5 separate regions of the Homo sapiens genome follow, and regions 1, 2, 3 and 4 are each linked to region 5. Evidence: promoter capture Hi-C in 16 types of primary human blood cells and fetal thymus (Javierre and others, 2016). All regions are on one chromosome and are shown on one strand. Each heading gives the region's core, a stretch centred on a gene start or on the middle of the fragment in contact. The rest is flanking DNA. Distances are from core to core; before and after follow the strand shown.

Region 1 (5,469 bases), core at 2,183-4,682, 180 kb after region 5:
GAATGTTTTTATATCTGTGGGTAAGTGCTTAATCTGGGTAAGGTGAGTGGAAGAGTTTTCATAGGTGGACAGACTTTTTGCACAGCTAAGAAGAAACCATCCAGGCATTTAATAACAGCATGGGCTGCCAATAGGTAGTGTAGTCTTGAAGAATCCCCAACACATAAGTCAACTGCTTGATCCAACAGTTATCCTCACAGTAGTCCCAGGAATTCTGCTGAGGAAGTGTGTATAAGTCTTATGATGCTCAGAGTCCTGGGCCCCACTGGAGTTGAATACAAAGAAAGACCATAAACATCTAAAGCCACAACCCAACTCACTCAAACTCAATGACAACATCAAAGGAACTAGTCTGATGGCAGGTGCAGAAGGTTGGGGCATCAAGGGCGAAGTGAGCTCTCTTAATTCCATGTGAAGGTGGAGAAAAATTTAATTAAGACTGTTCCCAGCCCCAGCTCAACTCAACTCTTAGAAAAATCTAAATAGCCCTCATCCTAGCCGACTTTTGGGATAAAAGGCATGAACTCATTGAAACTAAACAAAGTAAACAAATAACATGCGTTTTTTCTTCTACATACAATATCCAGCATAAAATTTAAAATAATAAAACCAAGAAAATGTAACCCATGACCAAGAGAAAAATGACTCACAGATCATCCAGACATTAGAATTAGCAGACAAGAGCTTTAAAACAACTTACAAATATGTTAAGGAATTTAATAGAAAGCGATGGTTTTCAATATTCAGAAAGATATTGAAACTCTAAAGAACCTCATGGGAATTCTAAAACAAAAAGATGAAAGTTTCACTGGATGGGTTTAATATGGACTGGAACCAGTGGAAGAGAGGATCAGCTTGAAGATAGCTACATAGAAATTAAAGTGAAGCAGAAAGAGAAAAAGAATTAAGAAAAGCTAAACATAGTATCAGCGACCTGTGAGACTAATATATGTATAATTGGAGTTTCAGAGGGAGAGGGGAGAGAAGCAGGGCAGCAATTATCAACCTAAATAATGTAGGACTCAACCACAGGCTGTTTTCAAGAGATGCCCTTCATAAAGACACAGGTTAAAGTAAGAATGGGGCCAGGCACGGTGGCTCATGCCTGTAATCCCAGCACTTTAGGAGGCCAAGGCAGATGGATCACCTGAGGTCAGGAGTTCGAGACCAGCCTGGCTAACATGGTGAAACCCTGTCTCTACTAAAAATACAAAAAATTAGCCAGGTGTGGTGGCACATGCCTGTAATCCCAGCCACTTGGGAGGCTGAGGCAGGAGAATTGCTTGAACCCGGGAGGCAGAGGTTGTAGTCAGCCAAGATCGTGCCACTGCACTCCAGCCTGGGCAACAAGAGCGAAACTCCGTCTCAAAAAAAAAAAAAAAAAGGAATGGAAAAACATACCATGCAAACCAATGAGAAAGCTAGTGTGGTAACATTAACATCGAAGTCAAGCAAGTAACACTACAGATTAGGAAGAGGATTTCATAATGATAAATGAGCCAATTCAGCAGGAAGCCAGAATTATATAAATGTTTATGCAGCTCATAACAGTTTCAAAATAGATAAAAATTTTCAGAACTCCAGCAAGAAACACATAAATTCATAATCATAGTTGGATAACACTTTCTTTTCAGTAGCTGGTGGAAAAGATAGAAAAAAAAAAAACATTTAAAATACAGGGAATTGGCCAGGCACAGTGGCGCACACCTGTAATCCCAGCACTTTGGGAGAATGAGGCAGGCGGATCACTTGAGGTCAGGAGTTTGAGACCCACCTGGCCAACATGGCAAAATCTCATCTCTACTAAAAATATAAAAATTAGCTAGGTGTGGTGGCATGTGCCTGTAATCCCAGCTACTCAGGAGGCTGAGGCAAGAGAATCGCTTGAAGCCAGGAGGTGGAGGCTGCGGTGACCCAGCCTGCACAACAGAGACTCTAAAACAAAAGGAGCACCATCATAGATCTTGATGACATCAAAATAATAATGGAATATTATGATCAAAATTATACCTATAAGTTCAACTTAAACACCTTGCAAGGTACAAATTACAAAGACTGATGCAAGTAGAAAATCTAAATAGCCCCATTTCTGAGTTTAAAAGTTAAATTTGGCCAGGCGCAGTGGCTTGTGCCTGTAATCACAGCACTTTGGGAGGTGGGTGGATCACTTCAGGTCAGGAGTTTGAGACCAGCCTGGCTAACATGATGAAACCCCATCTCTACTAAAAATATAAAAATTAGCCGGGCGTGGTGGCAGGCGCCTATAATCCCAGCTACTCGGGAGGCTGAGGCAGGAGAATAGCTTGAACCCAGGAGGCGGAGGTTGCAGTGAGCTAAGATCACGCCCTCCAGCCTGGGCGACAGAACGAGAGACTGTCTCAAAGTATATTAGCAAATTTAATCCACAAACAAAGTGGATACAGTATAAGCAAGTGGTTTTATCCCAGAAATTAATGTAACTTATTACATTAATAGATTAAAGGGAAGAACCATTTGACAAAATTCAACACCTATTATTGGAGGAAAAAAAACCTGCAACAAACTAGAAATACAACAGAACTTCCTCCATGTGCTGGGCAGAGATTCTCTACCTGAACATGATGGGGATTTTGCCCAGAAAATTCTTTGCTGGGGTGGGGAGAGGCTGTGCTGTGCATCCTAGAATGCTTGGCAGTGTTCCTAGCCTTCACCCTCAAGATGCCAGCATCAACGCTCCCCACTCAGCTGTTTGTGACAATGAAAAATGTCACATGACAGGCCAAGTGCAGTGGCTCACGCCTGTAATACCAGCACTTTGGGAGGCCGAGGTGGGCGGATCATGAGGTCAGGAGATCGAGACCATCCTGGCTAACATGGTGAAACCCTGTCTCTACTAAAAATACAAAAAATTAGCCAGGCGTGGTGGCGGGCGCCTGTAGTCCCAGCTACTCAGGAGGCTGAGGCAGGAGAATGGCGTGAACCCGGGAGGCGGAGTTTGCAGTGAGCCGAGATCACGCCACTGCACTCCAGCCTGAGTGATAGAGCGAGACTCAGTCTCAAAAAAAAAAAAAAAAAAAAAAAAAAAAAAGTCATATGACATTACCAAATGTCCCTGGAAGAGGTGGGAAATCACCCTCGGTTGAGAATCATTCATTGTGTTAAGGATATTAACAACAATGACAAAAGCTACAGCTAACATCATACTAAATGATGAAATACTGAATACTTTCCCCAATACTGAAAACAGGGAAGGGAAATCCCTTTACACCACTTCTGTTCAACACTATAGTGAAGTTCCTAGCCAGTGAAAGAAGGCAAGAAAAAGATATAAAAAGCATAGAAACTGGCTAGGAAGAAGTAAAACTGTCTTTATTCACAGATGTCATAAGCATGTAATTAGGAAATCCTAGGGAATCTACAAAAATAAAAAGCTACTAGAATAAGTGCACTTAGGAAAGTCACAAAAATAAAAGCCAATATACAAAAATAATCACATTTCTGCATACTAGCAACAAACCATAGTTAAGTGAAATTTTAAAAACAAAACCATTTACAATAGCCTCAAAAATCAAATGCTAAGACTATATTTAACAAAAGATATTCAAAAATCTCTATACTGAAAACTACAAGGTATTTTTGAGAGAAAAACCTAAATAAATGGAAATATTTGTTTATGAATTCAAAGAATTGGTGTAGGCCGGGCGTGGTGGCTCACGCCTGTAATCCCAGCACTTCGGGAGGCCGAGGTGGGTGGATTACTTGAGCTCAGCAGTTTGAGACCAGCCTGGCCAACATGGTGAAACCCTGTCTCTACTAAAAATACAAAAAAATTAGCTGGGCATGGTGGTACACACCTGTAATCCCAGCTACTCAGGAGGCTGAGGTAGGAGAATCGCTTGAGCCTGCGAGGCAGAGGCTGCAGTGAGCCGAGATCGCACCACTGCACTCCTGCATGGGTAACAGAGTAAGACTCTGTCTCAAAAAACAAGATATCAGTTCTCCCCAAATTGATCTACAGATTCAACACAATGGCAATTCAGATCTCAGCCAGGTTTGTTGAGGAATTGACAAGCTGATTCTAAAATGTACATGAAAATGCAAAGGACCGGCCGGGTGTAGTGGCTTATGCCGGTCATCCCAGCACTTTGGGAGGCCAAGGCAGGAGGATCACCTGAGGTCAGGAGTTTGAGACCAGCCTGGCCAACATGAGGAAACCCCATCTCTACTAAAAAATAATTAGCCAGGCGTGGTATCGGGTGCCTGTAATTTCACTTAGGAGGCTGAGGCAGGAGAATTGCTTGAACTCAGTAGGCAGGGAGGTTGCAATGACCTGAGATCACACCACTGCACTCCAGCCTGGGCAATGGAGCAAGACTCCATCTCAAAAAAAAAAAAAAAAAAAAAATGCAAAAGACCTAAAGTAGTCCAAACAATCTTGAGAAAGAACACGTTGGAGACTCATACTATCGAATTTCAAGATTTACTATAAAGCTACAGTAGTCAGGGCAGTGTTATATTAGCCTAAAGATAAACCAAAAGATCAATAGAACAGAACAGAAATCCACCTATACACATATGACCAATTGATGTTCAGTAAAGATATCACAGCAATTCAATGGGTAAGGGAAAGTCTTTTTAACAAACAGGGCTAGAACTACTGTATAGCCATATAGAAAAATATAAACATATTCCTGCCACATACCATACCCCCACCCCAAATTAACAGGAACCAAAGACCTAAATTCAAAAGCCAAAACTAGAAACTTCCGGAAGAAAACATAGAATATCTTTATGACCTCGGGCTTAGCAAAGATGTTCTATATTAAATGTAACAGGCCAGACACAAATGTCTATGTATTGTGTGAATCTATTATCTATGAAACCCAAGAACAGGTCAGACTTATATGTAGTGATGGAAATCAGTCATTGCTTCTGGGGTGAAGAGAAAGGAACCCAAAGTAACTCTCTGGAGTGACGGAAATTGGGGCATTGGTGACAGGGGTCATTTGTCAAAACTCATTAAAGTATACATTTAGTATCTGTGCTTGTTGTCTGTAAATTATAGCTCAATAAAAACTGAGTTTTGGCCAGGTGTGGTGGCTCACGCCTGTAATCCCAACACGTTGGGAGGCCAAGACAGGAAGATCGCTTGAGCTCAGGGGTTTGAGACTAGTCTGGGCAACATAAGGAGACCGTGTCTCTACAAAAAAAAAAAAAAAATTAGCTGGTCATGGTGGCACATGCCTGTGGTCCCAGCTACTCAAGATGCTGGGCGTGAGGATCGCTTGGGCCCGGGAGGCCAAGGCTGCAGTGAGCTGTCATCACGCCCCTGCACTCCAGCCTGGGTGACAGAGCAAGACTGTCTAAAGGAAAAAAAAAAATAGCCGGGGCCAGGCACGCTGGCTCATGTCTGTAATCCCAGCACTTTGGGAGGCCGAGGCAGGCGGATCACGGGGTCAGGAGATCGAGACCATCCTGGCTAACACAGTG
Region 2 (5,447 bases), core at 100-2,599, 200 kb after region 5:
CCCCAGGGTCCTAGACTCAGCCAACTGTGAATAAGTCTCAAGGTGGCTCATGCCTGTAATCCCTGCAGTTTGGGAGGCTGAGACCGGCAGATCATTTAATCTTAGGAGTTCAAGATCAGCCTGGGCAACGTAGTGAAGGCCCATCTCTACAAAAAATACAAAAACAATATTAGCCAGAAGTGGTGGCACACCTGTAATCCTAGCTACTTGGGAGGCTGAGGCGGGAGGATCCCCTGAACCCAGAAGGTTGAGGTTGCAGTGAGCCAAGATCACGCCACTGTACTCCAGCCTAGGTGACAGAGCAAGACCCTGTCTCTAATACAATAAAATTAAAATAAAAAAAAAATAAAAGTCCAGGTGTGGTGGCTCACGTCTGTAATCCCAGTACTTTGGGAGGCCGAGGAGGGGGAATCACCTCAGGTCAGGAGTTCAAGACCAGCCTGATCAACATGGAGAAACCACGTCTCTACTAAAAATACAAAATTAGCCGGGCATGGTGCCACATGCCTGTAATCGCAGCTACTTGGGAGGCTGAGGCAGAAGAATCGCTTGAACCCGGGAGGCAGAGGTTGCAACGAGCTGAGATCATGCCATTACACTCCAGCCTGGGCAACAAGAGTGAAACTCCATCTCAGAAAAAAAAAAAGTAAAAACTGGTCCCAGAGGACCAGTACATCTTATTTTGGACAACCAGGATATAGTCTAAGGCGACTCTATTGTCCATTATAAGCAGAGCAGAGAACTTTAGGCTGATCTGCTAAAATACCAAAAAAAGAAATTTAAAAATAAAAAAACTGATCTGATCTTTGATGTCTTTACAAACAATTACAGGGTGACAACAGATGAGCCTAAAAGCAACCCCCATCCACAATGGGCATGCCACAGCTTACCTCCCCAACCTGAGAAGAGACAGTCATTGGATTTTGTTGTTAAGCTTGGCTGGAATTACCGTTACATTGTCTCAGTTAAGCCACATAAGTAATATCAGCAGGTTGTTTCAACTAACACAGGAGTGAGCCAACTTTTTCTGGAAAGAACCAGGTAATAGTATTTTGGGTTTTGTAGGGCATTTGTTTTCTGTGGCATAGTCATCTTTTTCTTTTTTCTTTTTGAAACAAGATCTTGCTCTGTCACTGAGGCTGGAGAGCTGTGGTACAATAATATCTCACTGCAGCTTCGACCTCCCAGGCTCAAGCGATCCTCCCACCTCAGCCTCCCGAGTAGCTGGGACTACAGGCGTGCACCAGCACACCCAGCTAATTTTTAATTTTTTGTAGAGACAGGCTTTCACCACATAGCCCAGGCTAGTCTTGATCTCCTGGGCTCAAGTGATCCTTCTGCTTCAGCCTCCCCAAGTGCTAGGATTACAGAGGTGAGCCACCACACCTGGCTTTTTTTTTTTTTTTTTTTTTTTAAACAATTCTTGGCTGAGCCGTGGCTCACGCCTGTAATTCCAGCACTTTGGGAGGCTGAAGCAGGTGGATCACTTGAGGTCAGGAGTTCAAGACCAGGACGGCCAACATGGAGAAACCCCGTCTCTACTAAAAATACAAAAATTAGCCGGGCATGGTGGCGGGCACCTTTAATCCCAGCTACTCGGGAAGCTGAGGCAGGAGAATGGCGTGAACCCAGGAGGCGGAGCTTGCAGTGAGCCAAGATCATACCACTGCTCTCCAGCCTGGGCGACAAAGCGAGATTCCATCTCAAAAACAACAACAACAACAACAACAACAACACATTCTTTAAAATATATGAAAAGCTTTGTTAGTTTATAGACCACACAGAAACAGGTCACAGGCCAGATGTATCCCACAGGCTATAGTGTGCCAACTCCTGATCTAGCACCATGTCGGTCCAACAAGGGGATTCTGGTGCCTAAACCAGCATTAGTTTGAATCCCCTACTTGGCCCCCTCAGGACTCAACTGCCATCTGGAGGGCATGACCACCAGGCTGTCCAGCGGAAAGAAAGATGCATCATTCCCAACAATGGTCAGCGGGCAAAATTGTACTTTTTTTTTGAGACGGAGTCTTGCTCTGTCACCCAGGCTGGAGTGCAGTGGTGTGATCTCGGCTCACTGCAAGCTCCGCCTCCCGGGTTCATGCCATTCTCCTGCCTCAGCCTCCTGAGTAGCTGGGACTACAGGCGCCCGCCACCAAGCCCGGCTAATTTTTTGTATTTTTAGTAGAGACGGGGTTTCACCATGTTAGCCAGGATGGTCTCGATCTCCTGACCTCGGGTCTCTGTAACTCCTCCAACACTTCTGTCTCAGGGACTATCCAAGATGCAGCCAAGAAGAGATGAAGCCTCTTCTGGGACTGCCACATTCAGTGACCAAACGGCCTGAGTAAAGTGTGTGCGGCCGGGTGTGGTGGCTCACGCCTGTGATCCCCCCACTTTGGGAGGCCAAGACGGGTGGATCACTTGAGGTCAGGGGTTCGAGACCAGCTGGCCAACATGGTGAAACCTATCTCTACTAAAAATACAAAAATCACCTAGGCATGGTGACGCCTATAATCCCAGCTACTTGGGAGGCTGAGGCAGGAGAATCGCTTGAACCCAGGAGGCAGAGGTTACAGTGAGCCGAGATGGCACCACTGCACTCCAGCCTGAGCAACAGAGCATCTGTCTCAAAAAATAAATAAATAAAGTGTGTGGATCAGGAAGAGGTAGGAAGGGGAAACCAGAAACCTTTTTGAGCTGATTCTTGAGGAAGATGATCCAACAATCAATAATACCAGACACCCGCAGATAGTGAGGAAGTTACAAAGTCCCATTGAATACCTTAAATATCAACCAAACTGCAATCAATGTCTTCCGGAGTTGGTGTTGGGGTTAGGTGGTTGCTGCCCCCTAGTGGACATCTTTAGGTTTAACATAGTGGAATGCGCCCAGCCGTTTAAGGGAACCCGTTTGAATTGAGGGCCCCATTGAGCCAGAGGAATTGCCTCAGGCAGGGGAGTGGAGGAGAGTTTTCTCCAAATGGGGTAGCTGCTGCGGGGTGCGGCGGCTCACACTTGTAATTCCAGCACTTTGGGAGGCCGTGGCAGGAGGATTGCTTGAGCCCAGGAGTTCAAGACCAGCATGGGCAACACAGCGAGACTCTGTCTCTGGAAAAAAAAAAAATTAAAAAATTAACCGGGTATGCTGGCGCATGCCTATAGTCCCAGCTACTCAGGAGGTTGAGGTGGGAGGATCGCTTGAGCCCAGGAGTTCCAGGCTGCAGTGAGCCACGATCATGCCACTGCACTCCAGCCTGGGCAACACAGCAAGACCGTCTCGAAACAGAAAACAGAAGAAACAGGGGTAGCTGTGACTTTTGTATGTAAAACTCAGAAGACCTGAGGACCAGACCAGCTGTGCTCTTAGACGTACCCTTTACCTTTGGCCATTTCCGGTATTGCTAGTGAAGCTGCAGTTAACCTACCCGAGAACAAGGGTGTGAGGCTGGGGAGTCAAAGGCCACCACAAGCCAGGCGTTTGCTTTCAAGGAGAGCTTAATAGTGATTCATAGCGGCCTTCTTTTCTTTTTTTATTATTTATTAGAAGAGAGACAGGGCCGGGCACGGTGGCTCACGCCTGTAATCCCAGCACTTTGTGAGGCAGAGGTGGGTAGATCCCAAGGTCAAGAGATCAAGACCATCCTGACCAACATGGTGAAACCCAGTCTCTACTAACAATACAAAAGTTATCTGGGCATGGTGGCAGGTGCCTGTAATCCCAGCTACTGGGGAGGCTGAGGCAGGAGAATCGCTTGAACCCCAGAGGTGGAGGTTGCAGTGAACCGAGATCGTACCACTGCACTCCAGCCTGGTCACAGAGCAAGACTCTGTCTCAAAATAAATAAATAAAATTTTAATTTAAAAAAAACAGAGATGGGTTTTCACTATGTCGCCCAGGCTGGTCTTGAACTCCTGGACTCAAGCAATCCACCCACCTCTTGGTGTGAGCCACCGCACCCAGCCCAGCTGCCCTTTCTTTTTAAAAGGAGTGTACTTGGTGGCCGTGTCAGGCAGGTGGCACTGTGGCACTGGGAAACGGCTTCCCGGAGCACTCCAGCAGCCATTTAGTCATTACAGTTGTGTTTCCTTTTCTACTGGGATCCCACATTGTTTCTGGTAGAGGTGAAGAGGGCGGCATATGCCACAGCCTCCGACTGGTAGAATCCTCTGATAACAAGGCATGTGTAGTTTTTTCGAGCATGTAAAGCATCAGTACCAATTACACCCGCTCAGTCGTGGAAACCACACAGCGGGACATTGAATTGGCTCTAGGTGCCACACCCAACGAGATCTCTTCAGCTTCCCTTCCCACTGGGAGCCTGACTGGTTGAATTCAGGTACTTGGACCAAGAAGTCTGTGGGTCAGGGACTACAGCCTCAGCCCTGGAGCAACTTGGGGCTGGGGGGCATCCCAGGGGGACAGCAAAGGCAGGGGAAAAAAACTCATTGTTGGTCGGGCGCGGTGGCTCACACCTGTAGTTCCAGCACTTTGGGAGGCCGAGGCGGGCGGATCACTTGAGGTCAGGAGTTCAAGACCTGACTGACCAACATGGAGAAACTCCGTCTCTACCAAAAATACAAAATTAGCCAGGTGTGGTGGTGCACACCTGTAGTCCCAGCTACTCAGGAGGCTGAGGCAGGAGAATTGCTTGAACCTGGGAGGCGGAGCTTGCAGTGAGCAGAGATCGCGTCATTGCACTCCAGTCTGGGCAACAAGAGTGAAACTCCATCTCAAAAAAAAAAAAAAAAAAAAAAAAAGGGCCGGGCATGGTGGCTCACACTTGTAATCCCAGCACTTTGGGAGGCAGAGGCGGGTGGATCATGAGATCAGGAGATCGAGACCATCCTGGCTAACACGGTGAAACCTCGTCTCTATAAAAAATACAAAAAATTAGCCAGGCATGGTGGCGGGCACCTGTAGTCCCAGTTACTGGGGAGGCTGAGGCAGGAGAATGGCATGAACCCAGGAAGCAGAGCTTGCCGTGAGCCAAGATCATGCCACTGCACTCCAGCTTGGGCGACAGAGCAAGACTCCATCTCAAAAAACAAACAACAAAAAAACTTCATTATTGACCTCTCTATCGGCTCACTTGGCTCCTCCCTCCAGGATCAGTGCCAGAGCTGCAACCCAGGTACCTCCCAGGACCCAGCAAGTTCTTAGGCACAGAGGCCCCTCTCTTTCTGCTCTTCCACAGATGGCCAGGCTCAGCCCTCCCAGTCCTCAGCATCTTTGACCAGCCCTGCACCCAGCTGTGGACTGGATCCAAATTGGACCGTGGTGGGGCCAGAAACACTCGCAGGGTGGGATCTTCACTAATGTTTTCAGCCCACTGAAGGCTCAATATCAAATAGCAAGGCAGGGCATAGCGGCTCATGCCTGTAATCTCAGGGCTTTCGGAGGCCGAGGTGATTGCATCACTTGTGCTCAGGAGCTCACGACCAGCC
Region 3 (5,181 bases), core at 2,017-4,516, 220 kb after region 5:
GACTGCCGGGCGCGGTGGCTCACGCCTGTAATCCCAGCACTTTTGGGAGGCTGAGATGGCCGGATCACCTGAGGTGGGGAGTTTGAGACTAGCCTGACCAATGTGATGAAACCCCATCTCTACTAAAAACACAAAACTGTTAGCCAGGCGTGGTGGCACGCGCCTGTAGTCCCAGCTACTCGGGAGGCTGAGATAGGAGAATCGCTTCGATCTGGGAGGTGGAGGTTGCAGTGAGCTGAGATCGTGCCATTGCACTCCAGCCTGGGCAACAAGAGCAAAACTCCATGTAAAAAGTAAAGTACAGGTTCCTCTTCAAAGACTTTCCTCCCCATCTAATTAACAATAAATAGTAACTTCTCTTAGAAACAAAATTTATTCAAACACCTGTGCTAACATTCTTAAATATCTACTAGCCATAAAAAATAAATCAATGTACTTTATGTTCTTAGCTCTCACAATTTAGCCTAAATATTTGCCCTGACATACTTATACTGGTTCAAGCAAGCATTAGATCATAGCCTGTTCCTCTTCCTTATTTAAAAGTGTTTTTACCTTTCTCAACATTCCACAAGTTACTTCCTCCTTCCTTTGTTCTCCTCTGCCTTCGCTTCTTTTAAAAACTTCTAAGTTACTAGCCAATCAAGACAAATACAAAATGTAAAGTCCGGTTCCAGCCAATAAAAACCAGACACAGCAGTAAAATAGACGCGTCAGGTTATAAATGACCCTATCTCCTTTGTTCCGTGTACTCTCATGACAAAACTGCTGGCGAGTGTACCCTTTCTACAAAAAATAAAAATGGCTTTACTAAAAAAATTAAATTTATGTTCAAGTACTATTTCTTTACGACACCACAAAATAAACATTTCTAACATCCATCTCAAAAAAAAAGAAAAAAAAAAAGAAAAAAGAAAGACAGACAGAAAGACAGAGGGGGTGGGGTAGGCAGAGACCCAGAGAGATGATGATGGGGAATATAGGGTATCACTCAGAGATCCAGAGAAAGAGGGAGACAGAGACTCAGAGAGACAGATATTTTCTTAGAGCCAGGAGGACAGAGACCCAGGGAGCGGGGACAGAGACTCAGAGGAAGGCTGTCAGGCCGTCATCCCCCCTACCGTCCATGTCCTCCTGGGGAATCTGCCCGAAGATCTGCAGGTAGGGACGGTAGAAGACGCGGCGCAGGATACTTGGGAAGTCACTGTCCCGTGGCCTCAGGAGCCCCTCCGTGGCCACGCCATAGGCTACCAGCCACACGCCGAGGAAGAAGAGGAAGAAGAACACGTCCTTCATCTGTGGGGAGATGTGGCTGAGTCTGGCCCCGCCCTTTCCTACTCTGGCCCCACCCCTATATCCCAAAAACACGCCCCATTGCTCCCCAAAGTCACGCCCCTTCTCCACGGACCACTCCCTCCCTGGCCCCACCCCTTTCCCTATGTCCCCGCCCACTTTGGCCCCGCCCCTGCCTCACCATCTTGCTCACGATGACGATCTTGGGCCCCAGCTGTTTGTTGACCGTGAAGATGTGAAGCAGCCGCACCGTGAAAACCATGAAGTCGATGCAGAGGACAGTGCGGCCCAGGTGGTACAAACCCGGGGTCAGCCTGGGGTGTGGGGAGATGCCACAAGGGTCAAGTGTCACAAGACGCCAAGGAAAATGGAAGTCTTCCCAATGCCATCCTTCAGAGGAAGCTGCAGCCTCCACCGGGCAGGACCAGGACCCTCCCAGTCACCCGGGGTTTACTCAAATTTATTCAGTACCAAGCTGGTCCATGCAGGGCCCTGGCACCCATTTTTAAAATGGCTGCGCCTATTAAGTAATGACTGAATGAACGATGGCCTTAGCAAAGAGCTGGTCCCTGTAAGAATCAAGCTGGAAAAACTGCCGGAATATCTGTCCAACCTATAAAAGGCAAAACATATAGAGTCCTTACAAACTAATACGCAAAAGGAAGGAAGCCAGATAAAGGATACCACGTACAATTCACAGAGGACGTTCAAACGGCCAGTAAACATCAATAATTCCTATGGGGAAAATAAAAATTCTACCCCTATTTTGCATCCTCATGTACTTAAACTTTGGATGGATTAAAAACCTAGTGTATGGACAGACGCGGTGGCTCACGCCTGTAATCCCAGCACTTTGGGAGGCCGAGGCAGGCTCAAAAAAAAGAAAAGAAAAGAAACATACAAAAGTGAAAGTGAAAAGACAAGCCACAGACTTCGAGAAGATATGAAGATATTAAGACCAACAAAACTACCGAGGATTAGGATCCAGAGTATAAGGAGTATATACATTTATACATATACAAATCAATGAACCCCAATTAAAAAAACGGGAGGGTGGCCGGTCGCAGTGGCTCACGCCTGTAATCCTAGCACTTTGGGAGGCCGAGGCGGGCGGATCACGGGGTCAGGAGATCGAGAACATCTTGGCTAACACGGTGAAACCCCGTCTCTACTACAAAATACAAAAAATTAGCCGGGCGTGGAGGCAGGCACCTGTAGTCCCAGCTACTCAGTAGGCTGAGGCAGGAGAATGGCGTGAACCCGGGAGGCGGAGGTTGCAGTGAGCCGAGATCGCGCCACTGCACTCCAGCCTGGGCTACAGAGCGAGACTCCGTCTCAAAAACAAAAACAAAAACAAAAACCAAAAAAAAAACAAGGGGGCACAAGGACATATGGCCATTAAGCTTAGGAAAAGATGTCCAACCTATCTGGTAGTCAAGAGTGCATAAATTATAACAAGGAGAGGTCATGTTTACCCATTAAATTGGCAAATTTTTTTTCAGTTAAATTGAGAGCTACATTTTAGAGTGAAAGTATCAGGCATTGTCGAGCATGGCCTCAAGGGGGCACTCTCTTACCCTGATGGCAGGTGTGGAAATGAGTGAAGCTACTTAGAAGGAAATCTATCCATGTCAAAAATAAATGTACCCTTTGACCCATAAACTTTACATCTGGGATGTAAACTTTTATTATTTTGGAATAATAAAAAAACAGAAGGCTGAGCATAGTAGCTCACGCCTGTAATCCCAGCACTTTGAGAGGCCAAGGTGGGAGGATTGCTTGAGCCCTGGAGTTTGAGACCAGCCTGGGCAACAGAGTGAGACCCTGTCTCTATTTAAAACAAAAAAAGAAAGAAAGAGAGAACCTAAATGTCCATCTAGAGGGAACTGGCGAAACAAAGGATGATTCATCCATTCAATTCCGGAGATGATTAGACATTTCTCCCTTTTTTTTTTTTTTTTTTTTTTGACAGAGTTTTGCTCTTTTCACCCAGGCTAGAGTGCAGTGGCATGATCTTGGCTCACTGCAACCTCCGCCTCCCAGGTTCAGGCAATTATCCTGCCTCAGCCTCCCGAGTAGCTGGGATTACAGGCGCCTGCCACCATGCCCGGCTAATTTTTTGTATTTTTAGTAGAGATGGGGTTTCACCATGTTGGGCAGGCTGGTCTCAAACTCCTGATCTCAGGTGATCCACCCGCCTCGGCCTCCCAAAGTGCTGGGATTACAGGCATGAGCCACCACGCCAGGCCCGTTTCTCCCTTTTAAGCTGAGATCTTTCCATTTTTCACCTGGAAAGTGGTAGGCTTGATAAACTGTCCAAAATATCACTGGCAATCCTAGAGCATGGTAGCATATGGCCTTAGCCCTTTCATCTCAAAAGTCACTTTATACAAAATACAACAAATTACAAACAGAAGTATTAGTGTTCTGCAAAACTCTCATATCTTGCTCCCTGCTTGAATAAATTATTTATGTTGAATCACTTTGTAACACTGCTAACATAGCTTAGAGGAAGCCTGCCTCTCAGCGTGTCTACTGGGAAAAGCTTGAGTAGGGATCATCACTGTCATCACTGTCAACCATTCAGGATGTGTCAGGTCCCTTGTAAACAGTCACCAGGTTGTTGGCCAGGCACGGTGACCCACATCTGTAATCTCAGCACTTTCAGAGGCTAAGGCCAGTGGATCACTTGAGGCCAAGAGTTCAAGACCAGCCTGGTCAATATGGCAAAGCCCCATCTCTACAAAAAAAATACAAAAAAAATTTAGCTAGGTGTAGTGGTGCATGCCTGTAATCCCAGCTACTCACGAGGCTGAGGCAAGAGAATCGCTTGAACCCAGGAGGTGGAGGTTGCAGTGAGCCAAGATCGTACCACTGCACTCCAGTCTGGGCGACACAGCGGAACTCTGGCTCAAAAAAAAAAAAGAAAAGAAAGAAAACAAAAACAAACAAACAAACAAAAAACCAGTCACCAGGTTGTATCCACAAACTTTTCTGTTTGCTCTCCTCAAAAGGAGGAGTATCCTAATGCAGGATACTCCATAATGCAGGCAGGGCAAGGGTTAAACCCTTAGCTTGGAGGGATGGAAGGAAGCATAGAAGGAAGGAAGGAAGGAAGGAAGGAAGGAAGGAAGGAAGGAGGGAGGGAGGCAGAGGGGCAGAGGACAGAGGGAGAGAGAGAGAAAGAAAAGAGAAAAAGAAAAAGAAAAGAAAGGAAAAGAAAAGAGAAAGAAAGAAAAGAAAGAGAGAGAAAGAAAGAAAGAAAGAAAGAAAGAAAGAAAGAAAGAAAGAAAGAAAGAAAGAAAAAGAAAGAAAGAGAAAGAAAGAAAGAAAAAAAAAGGAAAGAAAGAAAAAGTCGGGGGCAGGAGGGCAAGGGGCCTGGGACCAACGAGCTATGTGGAGGAAGAGAAGGGAGGAGGTGAGGTTGGCACCCAGGTCGGGGCGCTCCCATAAATATCTGTTAAACTTCAGGCCTAGCAATAAATAGCAGCAGAGGCTGAGTGGCGGACAGTGGGGTTTTCTCCTGAATCCTGCCGTCCCTGAAGCCAGATCTCCAGGTGCCAGCCAATTACCCTGGGGCAATCGTCATGCCCGACTTTCCTAAGAGGGGTTCTCAATCAGCAGGGTTGGCTTGACCTGCTGCCCAGCTGCGGGGAAGCCGGGAGTGGAGACCCCGGGAGTGGGCAGGAAGGATGAGAGGTGGCCAGGGGCCAGGGTTCCAAGGCCCCGGGGCACTCACCGGCAGCCCACGCCCAGGAGGAAGCAGGTGAGAGCCACTAGGTCGCACTGGTTCCAGCTGTCGGCGAGGTAGAGGCGCAGGCGCTGGCTCAGTGAGGCATGGCCAGGCCCGGGGCCCCCGCTGGCGAGGCTGCCCCCGCCTCCGCTCAGGCC
Region 4 (4,987 bases), core at 334-2,833, 130 kb after region 5:
TATATAAGCAGAAAATCCCAGTACCCGGTGGTAAGTCTATAGTAGAGGTAGCCAGGGAAACTCCGGGGGCATAGATGGTTAGTTAAGGAAGACTGGAGAGTTAGGGAAGGTGGCCTAGAGAAGAGGATGCTTGAGCAGAGCCTGGACAGATGAATAGGTGGAGATAGGGTGATGGGCACCCTAGACCAAAAGACCCCACTTGTATATTTATTGAGATTGAGAATATGTACTAAAGGAGACTGGATAGGTGGCTGAAATAAACTAGATAAGTTCACCAAGGGCCAAATGCCACTTTATTTTATCTGTGTTGTTCACTGCTGGATATCCAGCACTTAGAAGAGTTCCTGGCACATCATAGACATTCTCATATTTATGGGATGAATGAAAGAGACTTGGCCTTTCTCCTGAGGCCATTGGATACCCATGGAAAGTTCTTGAGCAGGAGAGGGGTGTTTGGAAAAGTTTCTTGGGTTAGGATAGAAGACAGACTGACTAGGGGGAAGATGAGAGAGGACAAGACTTGAGATGAAACAGGAGATTAGAGATACAATAGAATGTTTGAAAGATGCCAAGGTTGGGCTGGCCCTGCCTCCAAGGTGGTGAGGCCTAACTGGGCATCCCACACTCTGGTGGCCCTTCTCCAGGTTCCTTGCAGACCTGACGATCCTGTTGGGCCACCCCATCTCTCCCATCTTTGGTTGGCTGTGGCCCCATCTGTGTCCAGTTGTGCTGCTAATCATCTTTGTGACCATGATGGTTCATCTTTGTATGAAGCCGATCACCTACATGTCCTGGGACTCAAGCACCGTGAGCCTCCCCCAGGACCCAGAACCCCTTTGGGAGTAGGGGCCAGACCTTTCAATTCACTCTGGGTGAAAGAACCCAGTCATCTCATTCTCTTACTGCCCGAAGACTCATGGGTTTTCTGCTTTGGTTCCCCACCCATCCTTCCCCTCCACAACTCTTCCTTTTCTCTTGGGGATTTTGATATTCTGAACCCTTTTCCCATCTCTCCACAGTCAAAAGAGGTGCTTCGACCATACCCACCGTGGGCACTGCTCTTGATGATCACCCTTTTTGCCATTGTCATCCTCCCCATCCCTGCATACTTTGTATACTGCCGCATACATAGGATTCCCTTCAGGCCCAAGAGCGGAGACGGGCCTATGACAGCCTCCACATCCCTACCCCTAAGTCACCAGCTAACACCCAGTAAAGAGGTTCAAAAGGAAGAAATTCTACAAGTTGATGAAACAAAGTACCCATCAACTTGTAATGTGACTTCCTAACTTCATTAATTTGGCTTCACATAACATATCCCTTAGAACAGATCCAATAGACAACTCTTAATATCAGCTTGCAACTGTTGATCTCCCTGGATCCAGAACCACTTTTATTTCCAAGAGGAGGGGCATTCTTTGGGGGTGTTCATGGGGCCTGGACTTGCAATCCCTTCCTGGGTCCCATCTTACCTGGTGACCACCATCATTGTTTTCCCCATCCTCTTCCTCAACACACATACATGCACAACACATATACAATACTAGTGATGTCTACCAGTCCTGCTACTTCTGGGGTGCCTGTCTCCTGGAATGGAGCTGGAGGAGCAATGCTGTTGGTGAATAAATCAGTCTACTGGAACTCCAAGGACTGGATGTAAGCAGATCTTTTTTTCCTATAGATGTCTCAGATGTTCAGTTTTCCTGTCACAAGGCTTCCAGTCTGTATTAGTTCATTTTCACACTGCTAATAAAGACATACCTGAAACTGGGAACAAAAAGAGGTTTAACTGGACTTACAGTTCCACATGGTTGGGGAGGCCTCAATCATGGTGGGAGGTGAAAGGCATTTCTTACATGATGGCAGCAAGAGAAAAAAATGAGGAAGAAGCAAAAGTGGAAACCCCTGATAAACCCATTAGATCTCATGAGACTTATTCACTATCACGAGATTAGGATGGAAAAGACCAGCCCCCATGATTCAATTACCTCCCCTGGTTCCCTCCCATAACACGTGGGAATTCTGGGAGATATAATTGAAGTTTATATTTAAATGGAGACACAGTGAAACCATATCATTCTGCCCCTGGCCCCTCCAAATCTCATGTCCTCACATTTCAAAAGCAATCATGCCTTCCCAACAGTCCCCCAATGTCTCAACTCATTTCAGCATTAATCCAAAAGTCCAGAGTGTCATCTGAGACAAGGCAAGTCCCTTCCACCTATGAGCCTGTAAAATCAAAAACAAGCTAGTTACTTCCTAGATACAATGGGGGTACTGGTATCAGGTAAATACAGCCATTCCAAATGAGAGAAATTGGCCAAAACAAAGGGGTTACAGGGCCCATGCAAGTCCAAAATCTAGCAGGGGAGTCAAATTTTAAAGCTCCATAATGATCTCCTTTGACTCCAGATCTCACATCCAGGTCATGCTGATGCAAAAGGTGGGTTCCCATGGTCTTAGGCAGCTCCACCTCGTGGCTTTGCAGGGTACAGTCCCCCTTCCAGCTGCTTTCACGGGCTGGTGTTGAGTGTGGCTTTTCCAAGCTCAGGGTGCAAGCTGTCAGTGGTTCTACCATTCTGGGGTCTGGAGGACAGTGGCCCTCTTCTCACAGCTCCACTAGGCAGTGCCCCAGTAGGGACTCTGACTCTGTGTGAGGGCTCTGACCCCACGTTTCCCTTCTGCATTTCCCTCCCTGGCAGAGGTTCTGCATGAGGGCTCTGCCCCTACAGAAAACTTTTGCCTGGACATCCATGCATTTCCATATATCTTCTGAGATCTAGGCGGAGGTTCCCAAACCTCAATTCTTGACTTCTGTGCACCCGCAGGCTCAACATCACGTGGAAGCTGCCAAGGCTTGGGGCTTCTACTCTCTGAAGCCACAGCCCGAGCTGTACGTTGGCCCCTTTCAGCCATGGCTGGAGTGGCTGGGACACAGGGCACCAAGTCCCTAGGCTGCACACTGCATGGGGACCCTGGGCCTGGCCCACAAAACCACTTTTTCCTCCTGGGCCTCTGGGCCTGTGATGGGAGGGGCTGCCATGAATGTCTCTGATATGGCCTGGAGACATTTTCCCCATGGTCTAAGGGATTAACATTAGGCTCCTTGCTACTCATGCAAATTTCTGCAGCTGGCTTGAATTTCTCCTCAAAAATGGATTTTTCTTTTCCACTGCATCATCAGGCTGCAAATTTTCTGAACTTTTATGCTGTTTCCCTTTTAAAACGGAATGCTTTTAACAGCACGCAAGTCACCTTCTGAATACTTTGCTGCTTAGAAATTTCTTCTGCCAGATACACTAAATCATCTCTCTCAAGTTCAAAGTTCCACAAATCTCTAGGGCAGGGGCAAGATGCCACTAGTCACTTTGCTAAAACATAATAAAGAGTCATCTTTGCTCCAGTACCCAACAAGTTCCTCATCTCCATCTGAGACCACCTCAGCCTGGACCTTATTGTTCATATCAGCATTTTTGTCAAAACCATTCAGTAGGTCTTCAGGAGGTTCCAAACTTTCCCACATTTTCCTGTCTTCTTCTGAGCCCTCCAAACTGTTCCAACCTCTGCCTGTTACCCAGTTCCAAAGTTGCTTCCATATTGTTGGGTATCTTTTCAGCAACACCCCACTCTACTGGTACCAGTTTACTGTATTAGTTTTCATGCTGCTGATAAATACATACCTGAAACTGGGAACAAAAAGGTTTAATTGGACTTACAGTTCCACATGGCTGGGGAGGCCTCAGAATCCTGGCGGGAGGTGAAAGGCACTTCTTACATGGTGGTGGCAAGAGAGAAAATGAAGCAAAAGTGGAAATCCCTGATAGACCCATCAGATCTCATGAGATTTATTCATTATCATGAGACAGCATGGAAAAGACCAGCCCCCATGATTCAATTACCTCCCCCTGGGTTCCTCCCACAACACATGGGAATTCTGGAAGATACAACTGAAGTTGAGATTTAAATGGGGACACAGCCAAACCATATCACAGTCTTTCTAAAGCTAAATGTCCAGCCCTGAGTTCCTGCCCTCCCCTTGCTCTGGCAAACTCAGATACTAGATTACCAGGCTTGCATTATCCACGGGCTGGCCTTTAGCCAAGGGAAACCTGGGAAATGGTGACTTCAACAAAGATGGGGAAGATATTAATGTGCTTGCTACTGATACATGATAATCCTATTATAGGTCTAAAATTATTTCTAAAAAGAGGTTGCACTCAAGGTTTGAACATTGTGTTGTGGACTGAGTACATCTGTAAATCAGTGCCACAACCAGTTACTAACAAGCTGTTTCACTGAGCTCACCAAGAGTCCCATTTCTGCTCAGTACTGGGCACCACTGGTTTTTATCCCAGGGTCAAATCAACTGAACTTGCCCAGTGGATGATCACTGAGTGGGTCTTTAAGAACTTGTGGGAGGGTAGTGCCATGAGGGTGCTGAAGTACTCCCCAAAAGGAGACTGGGGGGCCTGTCAGTTACCTGCTGGGGATGGGGGCTGTGGACAGAGGTGATTGGGATTCCCAAAGATCCAGGGAATGGGTTTCCCTTAAATGCTCAGAGATCTCAGGCTTTTAGATTGCTTAGAGCCCACGGGTAAGTTTCAGTGATAAAGGAAAAGAAGACACCCCCAACCATTGGCAGGCAGGACTCAAGAGGTGGATCTGCAGAAAGGAAAGAGCAGAGGCATCTGAAGTTTCCAGACCTCTGAAGTCTGGCTCTTCAAGCTTGAAGATAGGAGGGCTGGAGGGGCGTGCACCTCTGTGTCATCACCCATTGGCTCCTGTGCCCTATTAGGCCAGCCCATCCACCCCCCAAATTCCAAATGCTCTATCTGCTTGAAGACTTGCACTATTGAATCGGGTAATGTGGGGATGGGAGAGAGAAGGCGGTGGGCTCCTCCTTCTCATCAAATAGTCTGGGTCTTCAACCTCCTCCCTTTTGGGAACCAGGGCACTCATCCTCCCTTCTGCCTCAAGGCCCCTCCCA
Region 5 (5,280 bases), core at 2,234-4,733:
ATTCTGGGCGTGAAGTTTTGGAGAAGTTAGGTTTGGGGGTCTCAGGGGATCCTGGGTGTGGCATTTCAGTTGGGCCAGGTGTGGGGGTCTCAGAAGACTCTGGGTGTGCCATTTTGGAGAGGTTAGTTTTGGGCATGTCCAGGGATTCTGATATTGAGGTTGTGAGTGAGTCAGCTTTGGGGGTCTCAGGAGACTCTGGGTGCGGGGTTTCTCGGAGGTCAGGGTTGAGGGGCTCAGTGAAGTCAAGTGGGAAGGTTTCCAGGGAAACCGTATGAGGTAGCTTGGAAGGCTCAGGGTAAGGAGTCCCAGGAAATTCTGGGTTAAGGCGATCTCGTTTGGAATTTTCAGAAGCACCCTTCAGAGGGGAAGTCTCAGAGGGGTGGGCCATGTCCGGAAAGCCACAGCCCAAAGGCAGAGGGGCTGAGGGAGCGGCCTTGGACCTCAGGCCGGCGAGGAGGAAGACGAGGAAGAGGATCCGGCTGAATGATTTCATAGCTCTGGCAGATACCTATAGCTGCGGGGGAGAGCGGGAAGGAAGGGGTTAAGGCCGAAGGCTCCCAGGAGCCCCGCCCACTCCCGGAGGCCACGCCCACTGGAACACAGGTGGACCACGTCTGTCCGGGGCCCAGCTTGGCGCCAGGGATGGGAAGAGAACCCAATCGCAAGTCCCTTGGAGGCTTGTGGGGCGATGGCCCAGGTAGCCAAGAGAGACTGAGGCGCGGGGCTACTTGGGAGTCGTAGTTAATTTCCTTATCTGTTTCAGCGAGGGGTCCTAGAAAAATTGGGAAAGAACGACACTTCTCCAGGCCTCAGATCTCCTCGACTTCGACTTTAGGGAGTGTCAGGGCTTCGAGGGGACGTGGGATCTCCTTCCTCTCCGAGGTCCCCCGGGACACCTTGACTCAACAGTTGTTTACACTACAGGAGGCTCCTAACGGCTGAGGGCTGGACTCATGGATTTGAGGGAGGAGGGAGACATTTGGGCTCTGGGTTAAGAAGGTTGCTGGGGGTTCAGACTCCTGCGTCTTGCAGGGTGAGGGGGCTGAGGTTCCTGGCTCCTGGTTCTTTAGAGAGGAGAAGGCTGGAAGTTCAGGTGCCTAGAATTTTGAGGGAGCAAGGTTTGGGGGCTGGATTGCAGGGGTGAAAGGAGATAAGAGGCCTTGAGCTCTTGGTTCCTGAGTTAGAAAGGAATTGGGAGCTCTGAGTCCTCCAGAAATAGGGTCTGGGGTCTGGGCTCTGCAGAGTAGAGGGGTAGGGACTTGAAGAAGAGAGCTTTGGGGCAGGACTCTCAAGTCTGTTATTGAAGATGGAGCTAGGATTTCGGCATCTCCGGGGCCAGTCTGGGCAGAGAAGCATAGGTCTGTGTTCAGGTGGAGGTGGAGGCGGCCGACACATCGATGGGACAGGCTTACTTGAGGTCCTGGGGTCTCTTACCTGCTCTGGTGTCCAAGGTAACAGCAGATAAGCAGAGCTGGATGCAGAGAACGGTGAATGTTGCAGAACAGATCTGGGCAGGGCGGTGGGAGGTAGGGTCTCAGGGGCACACAGGTGACGCACCTCACCCCCTCCCAGGGGATCCTGGGAGCCTAGCGACAGACTTAGACTCTTAAAGGGACAGAAGTAAAGGACATTTTCTCTGGGGTGGGGAAGGGAGTTAGAAACTGGATTGATCTAGTGGAGATGTGGCCCAAATTATTTTTTTGAAACCAGTGGTCCTGGCCCTCTACCCTCTCCTACCTGAAAACCCAGGGGTCTAGTTCCCTGGTACCTTCCTATTTCAAGTCCCCTAAGTTGTATCCCCCAGCTCCCTCCCCCCAGACTCAGAACTCCAGTCCTCTAGCTCCTTCCTTCCTCAGATTCAGGAATCCAAGTCCCCAGCCTCCTCCTTCCCCAGAACATAGGAATCTGGGTCCCTGTCCCATCCACTCTTAGACTCAGGAGTCCAAGCTTCTGCCACCACCTTCCTAGGAAACTAGGAGCCCAAGTTCCCACATCCCAAGTTTCTACTGCTCTGTAGGACTTCCAAGTTTTGCCCATCTTCTCCTCACTGTGTATAAAGGCCCCTCTTTTTAAATTTTTTTTTTTTTTTGAGACAGAGTCTCACTCTGTTGCCCAGGCTGGAGTGCAGTGGTGCGATCTCAGCTCACTGCAACCTCCCTCTCCCAGGTTCAAGCGATTTTCCTGCCTCAGCCTCCCAAGTAGCTGGGATTACACCACACCTAATTTATGTATTTTTGTAGAGAAGGAGTTTCGCCATGTTGGCCAGTCTGGTCTCGAACTCCTGACCTCAAGTGATCCACCCACCACGGCCTTCCAAAGTGCTGGGATTACAGGCATGAGCCACAGCACCCGGCTGAGGCCCCTCTTAAGAGTCAGTGTGGACTGGGTGTGCTGGCTCACGCCTGTAATCCCAACACTCTGGGAGGCCAAGGAGGGCAGATCACAAGGTCAGGAGTTCAAGACCAGCCTGGCCAACAGTTTGGCGAAACCCTATCTCTACTAAAAATACAAAAATTAGCTGGGCGTGATGGTGGGCACCTGTAATCCCAGCTACTCGGGAGGCTGAGGCAGGACAATGGCTTGAACCTGGGAGGTGGAGGTTGCAGTGAGCCGAGATAGTGCCATTGCACTCCAGCCTGGGCAACAAGAGCAAGACTCCATCTCAAACAGACAAACACACACACACAAAAAGAGTCAGTGTGAGGAGGACTGGGCTTTAATCTTCACAGCACCCCCAAACTCCTCCCAGATAAGGGCTTAGACACATCCTTAGGGCAGCTCAGGAGCCCTGTCTGTTTTCCCCTCTTCTCACTCTCTGAGGTTTTTCTGATGTGGTCTGTCACTTTTCCTGTCCTCACACCCCTGCCACACGTACCCTTTGCCATTTCTTGCCTTTCCCCCCTCCCTACCTCACCCTCGATCTTTCTGGGCCTCTCGCTGCTGTATTTATCTCTGGGCAGCTCCTTCCAGACCAGGACGTCCTTCCATTTCCGTCTGTCTTTCTGAGAGCCTTTTCTTTCCCTCCTCCATCTCCATCTGACTGTTCGTTTCCATCTCCTTCGCTCTCTTTTCTTGTTTTCTTCCTTTTCCTTTCTTTTTCTGTCGTTCCCATTCTTTCTCTCTATTTCTTCCTCGGCCACTCTGTCTTTGTCCTTCTCTTTGTGTCTCTGTTCCTCTGACGGTCCTTCCGCCAGTCTCTATTTTTAGCCCTCTGACACACCCCCTGTGTCCACCTCTCTGTCTGTCTGTCTCTCCCCCTCCCTCGTCTCAGGTCCAGCTTCTGGTCCCAATTAGTTGGTGGCGGCCAAGGCAGCGGCAGGTCCCCCACCCCCGGCTCCTCATTACCGCTGGCGGCTCCTAATGAGCCTGGGGAGGGGGTGACCCCGCGTCCCCGGCCCCCCGGCCTGCGTCACTGCCCGGTGCGGGGGCTGCGGAGGCGATATAAGGGGGCTGCCACCATCGCTGCCCCAGCCCACTGCACGGTAGGGGACTGTGCGGGAAGCTGGGGGTGGATGCATGGTGGGGCCCGGGGTTCTGGGCCGGGATGCAGCCCTACTGAGCCCCTTTCTGGTTCTCCACAGGTGATGGAGACCCGCCAGGTGTCCAGGAGCCCTCGGGTTCGGCTGCTGCTGCTGCTGCTGCTGCTGCTGGTGGTGCCCTGGGGCGTCCGCACTGCCTCGGGAGTCGCCCTGCCCCCGGTCGGGGTCCTCAGGTAGGTGCCAGTCCCAGAACTCCCAGGGAGGGGTGGGAACTTGGAGAAGTGGGAAGAGAACCAAAGAGAAAGGGGACGGAAGATCCAGAAAGCGGAACAGAAGCCCAAAGAGAGGGCGACCGAGACCCAGCGAGAAGACAGAGACTAGGGGTGGGGGAAGGCGGGAGGAGGGTTTGGTGGTAGTGGTGGTGCGGGAAATGGACAGAAAATCAGCAAGGGAAAGAGACACAGAAAGATAGATCCCGAGAAAGGCGTGGAGAGGCTCGAAAGGAGTCGTTGCAGAAACGGATTCATTCTTTGAGCAACGTTTATTGGGTTCTTGGTGTGCGCCTGGCCATGCGCTGAGCGCTGTGGGCGGACAAGTGCATCAGACTCGGTCTCAGTACCTGGGGAGTTTCGAACCTGGTGAGCAGAGAGACAGAGACCCACACAGAGAACGAGAGAGACAGGGGGAGCCGGACCGAGCCACTCCACGGACTGGGCAGTAACGGGGCTTCGAGTTAGACCGCGGGGAGGACAGGCGGCGGCAAGAGCGAGTCTGGACGCGCGGTCACCGCGTCTCTCCACAGCCTCCGCCCCCCAGGACGGGCCTGGGCGGATCCCGCCACCCCCAGGCCGCGGAGGAGCCTGGCGCTGGCGGACGACGCGGCCTTCCGGGAGCGCGCGCGGTTGCTGGCCGCCCTCGAGCGCCGCCACTGGCTGAACTCGTACATGCACAAGCTGCTGGTGTTGGATGCGCCCTGAGCGCGCTGCCCGTCCCCATCTTAATAAAGACCATGCCCTGCGCTCCGGACTGCGCCTAGTTCCTGCGCGACCTGCGTGTGCGTTGGGTTGGGGGCGCGGGGCTTGAAATGGGGGGTAGAAAAGAGACAGGACTCTGTGTCGGCCACTCTGGCATCTCTCTCCTCAGTCCCCACTCTATTTTCTTTCCTCAATTCCGTTTCTCTCTGCCTGTCTTTGTCCAGGAAGCTGGCTTCTTTCCTATTTCTGGATCTCTGCTTCCCTATCGCCCCCACCCCCCCGCCCCCTCCTTTCATTCTGGGCCCCTGTCCCTCCCTACCCCCATCTCTGTCCCCTTCTCTCTGGTTCTCTGTAATCTCCAAGGTCTCTGTCCTCCTCCGTCTCTGTCCCTTTCTCTGGGTCTCTTTCCTCTCTGGGTATGTGTCCCCGTCTCCCTGGGTCCTTGTGGTTATCTCCCCTTTCACCCTTTTGGCTTTCTGGTCTTCTGGGAATCTCTGCCTCCTCTCTCTATTCTCCTTCTGCCTCTGAAACTCTTCCTTCCCTTCTCCATCACTTTCTTTTTTCCTTTTTCCTCTGCCTGACTCCTTCATATCTTCCTTTTCTTTCCTCCGTTAGGTTTCTATCTGTCTCTCCATCAGCTCTCATCTTTGAATTTCGCTGTTCCTCCCTCCCATCACTTCCAGACTTCTCCCCAGGCACAGTGGAAAGATCGCGGGCTCTGGTGTGAGGCAGCCCTAGCATCCAAACCCAGGGTCCTCCAAATCTAGCTGCGTAGTACTGAGAAAGCCTTCTTGACGTCAGTCTCTGTGTCTCCTTTTCTTCATCTG

The links. Contacts are between HindIII fragments. The CHiCAGO score rates a contact against its expected background, and 5 or more counts as called.
Region 1: a fragment that was not itself captured here is called in contact with the fragment with the promoter of PTH2 in region 5 in 3 of 17 cell types (total B cells, naive B cells and endothelial precursors); the score reaches 10.4 in total B cells.
Region 2: a contact is called between a fragment that was not itself captured here and the fragment with the promoter of PTH2 in region 5, in 2 of 17 cell types (total B cells and naive B cells). The highest score is 10.1, in total B cells.
Region 3: a contact is called between a fragment that was not itself captured here and the fragment with the promoter of PTH2 in region 5, in 1 of 17 cell types (naive B cells). The highest score is 5.0, in naive B cells.
Region 4: a fragment that was not itself captured here is called in contact with the fragment with the promoter of PTH2 in region 5 in 2 of 17 cell types (naive B cells and total B cells); the score reaches 9.9 in naive B cells.

The regions. Positions count from the first base shown.
Region 1 is chr19:49,245,627-49,251,095 of GRCh38, reverse strand. All of the region lies in intron 2 of LOC107985340 (a long non-coding RNA gene), which reads right to left. Among named protein-coding and RNA genes, the nearest start is that of MIR4324, 61 kb to the left of the region's middle. The HindIII fragment of the contact is 8,311 bases long and covers 1-5,469 here.
Region 2 is chr19:49,223,618-49,229,064 of GRCh38, reverse strand. All of the region lies in intron 1 of LOC107985340 (a long non-coding RNA gene), which reads right to left. Among named protein-coding and RNA genes, the nearest start is that of TRPM4, 69 kb to the right of the region's middle. RefSeq lists an enhancer at 2,937-2,986. The HindIII fragment of the contact is 825 bases long and covers 937-1,761 here.
Region 3 is chr19:49,196,723-49,201,903 of GRCh38, reverse strand. TRPM4 (transient receptor potential cation channel subfamily M member 4) reads right to left here. Exons shown (of 25, transcript NM_017636.4): 17 at 5,030-5,181; 18 at 1,472-1,604; 19 at 1,119-1,293. Among named protein-coding and RNA genes, the nearest start is that of TRPM4, 42 kb to the right of the region's middle. RefSeq lists a silencer at 4,819-5,145. The HindIII fragment of the contact is 1,142 bases long and covers 2,696-3,837 here.
Region 4 is chr19:49,286,425-49,291,411 of GRCh38, reverse strand. SLC6A16 (solute carrier family 6 member 16) reads left to right here. Exons shown (of 12, transcript NM_014037.3): 11 at 645-807; 12 at 1,020-1,774. The coding sequence ends at 1,289. Among named protein-coding and RNA genes, the nearest start is that of MIR4324, 20 kb to the left of the region's middle. The HindIII fragment of the contact is 6,288 bases long and covers 1-4,727 here.
Region 5 is chr19:49,421,644-49,426,923 of GRCh38, reverse strand. It overlaps PTH2 (parathyroid hormone 2), which reads left to right and starts at 3,483. Exons shown (of 2, transcript NM_178449.4): 1 at 3,483-3,712; 2 at 4,282-4,505. The coding sequence starts at 3,585. The coding sequence ends at 4,456. It overlaps GFY (golgi associated olfactory signaling regulator), which reads right to left and starts at 1,536. Exons shown (of 4, transcript NM_001195256.2): 1 at 1,435-1,536; 2 at 1-514. The coding sequence starts at 493. RefSeq lists a silencer at 3,164-3,367. The HindIII fragment of the contact is 6,183 bases long and covers 1,950-5,280 here.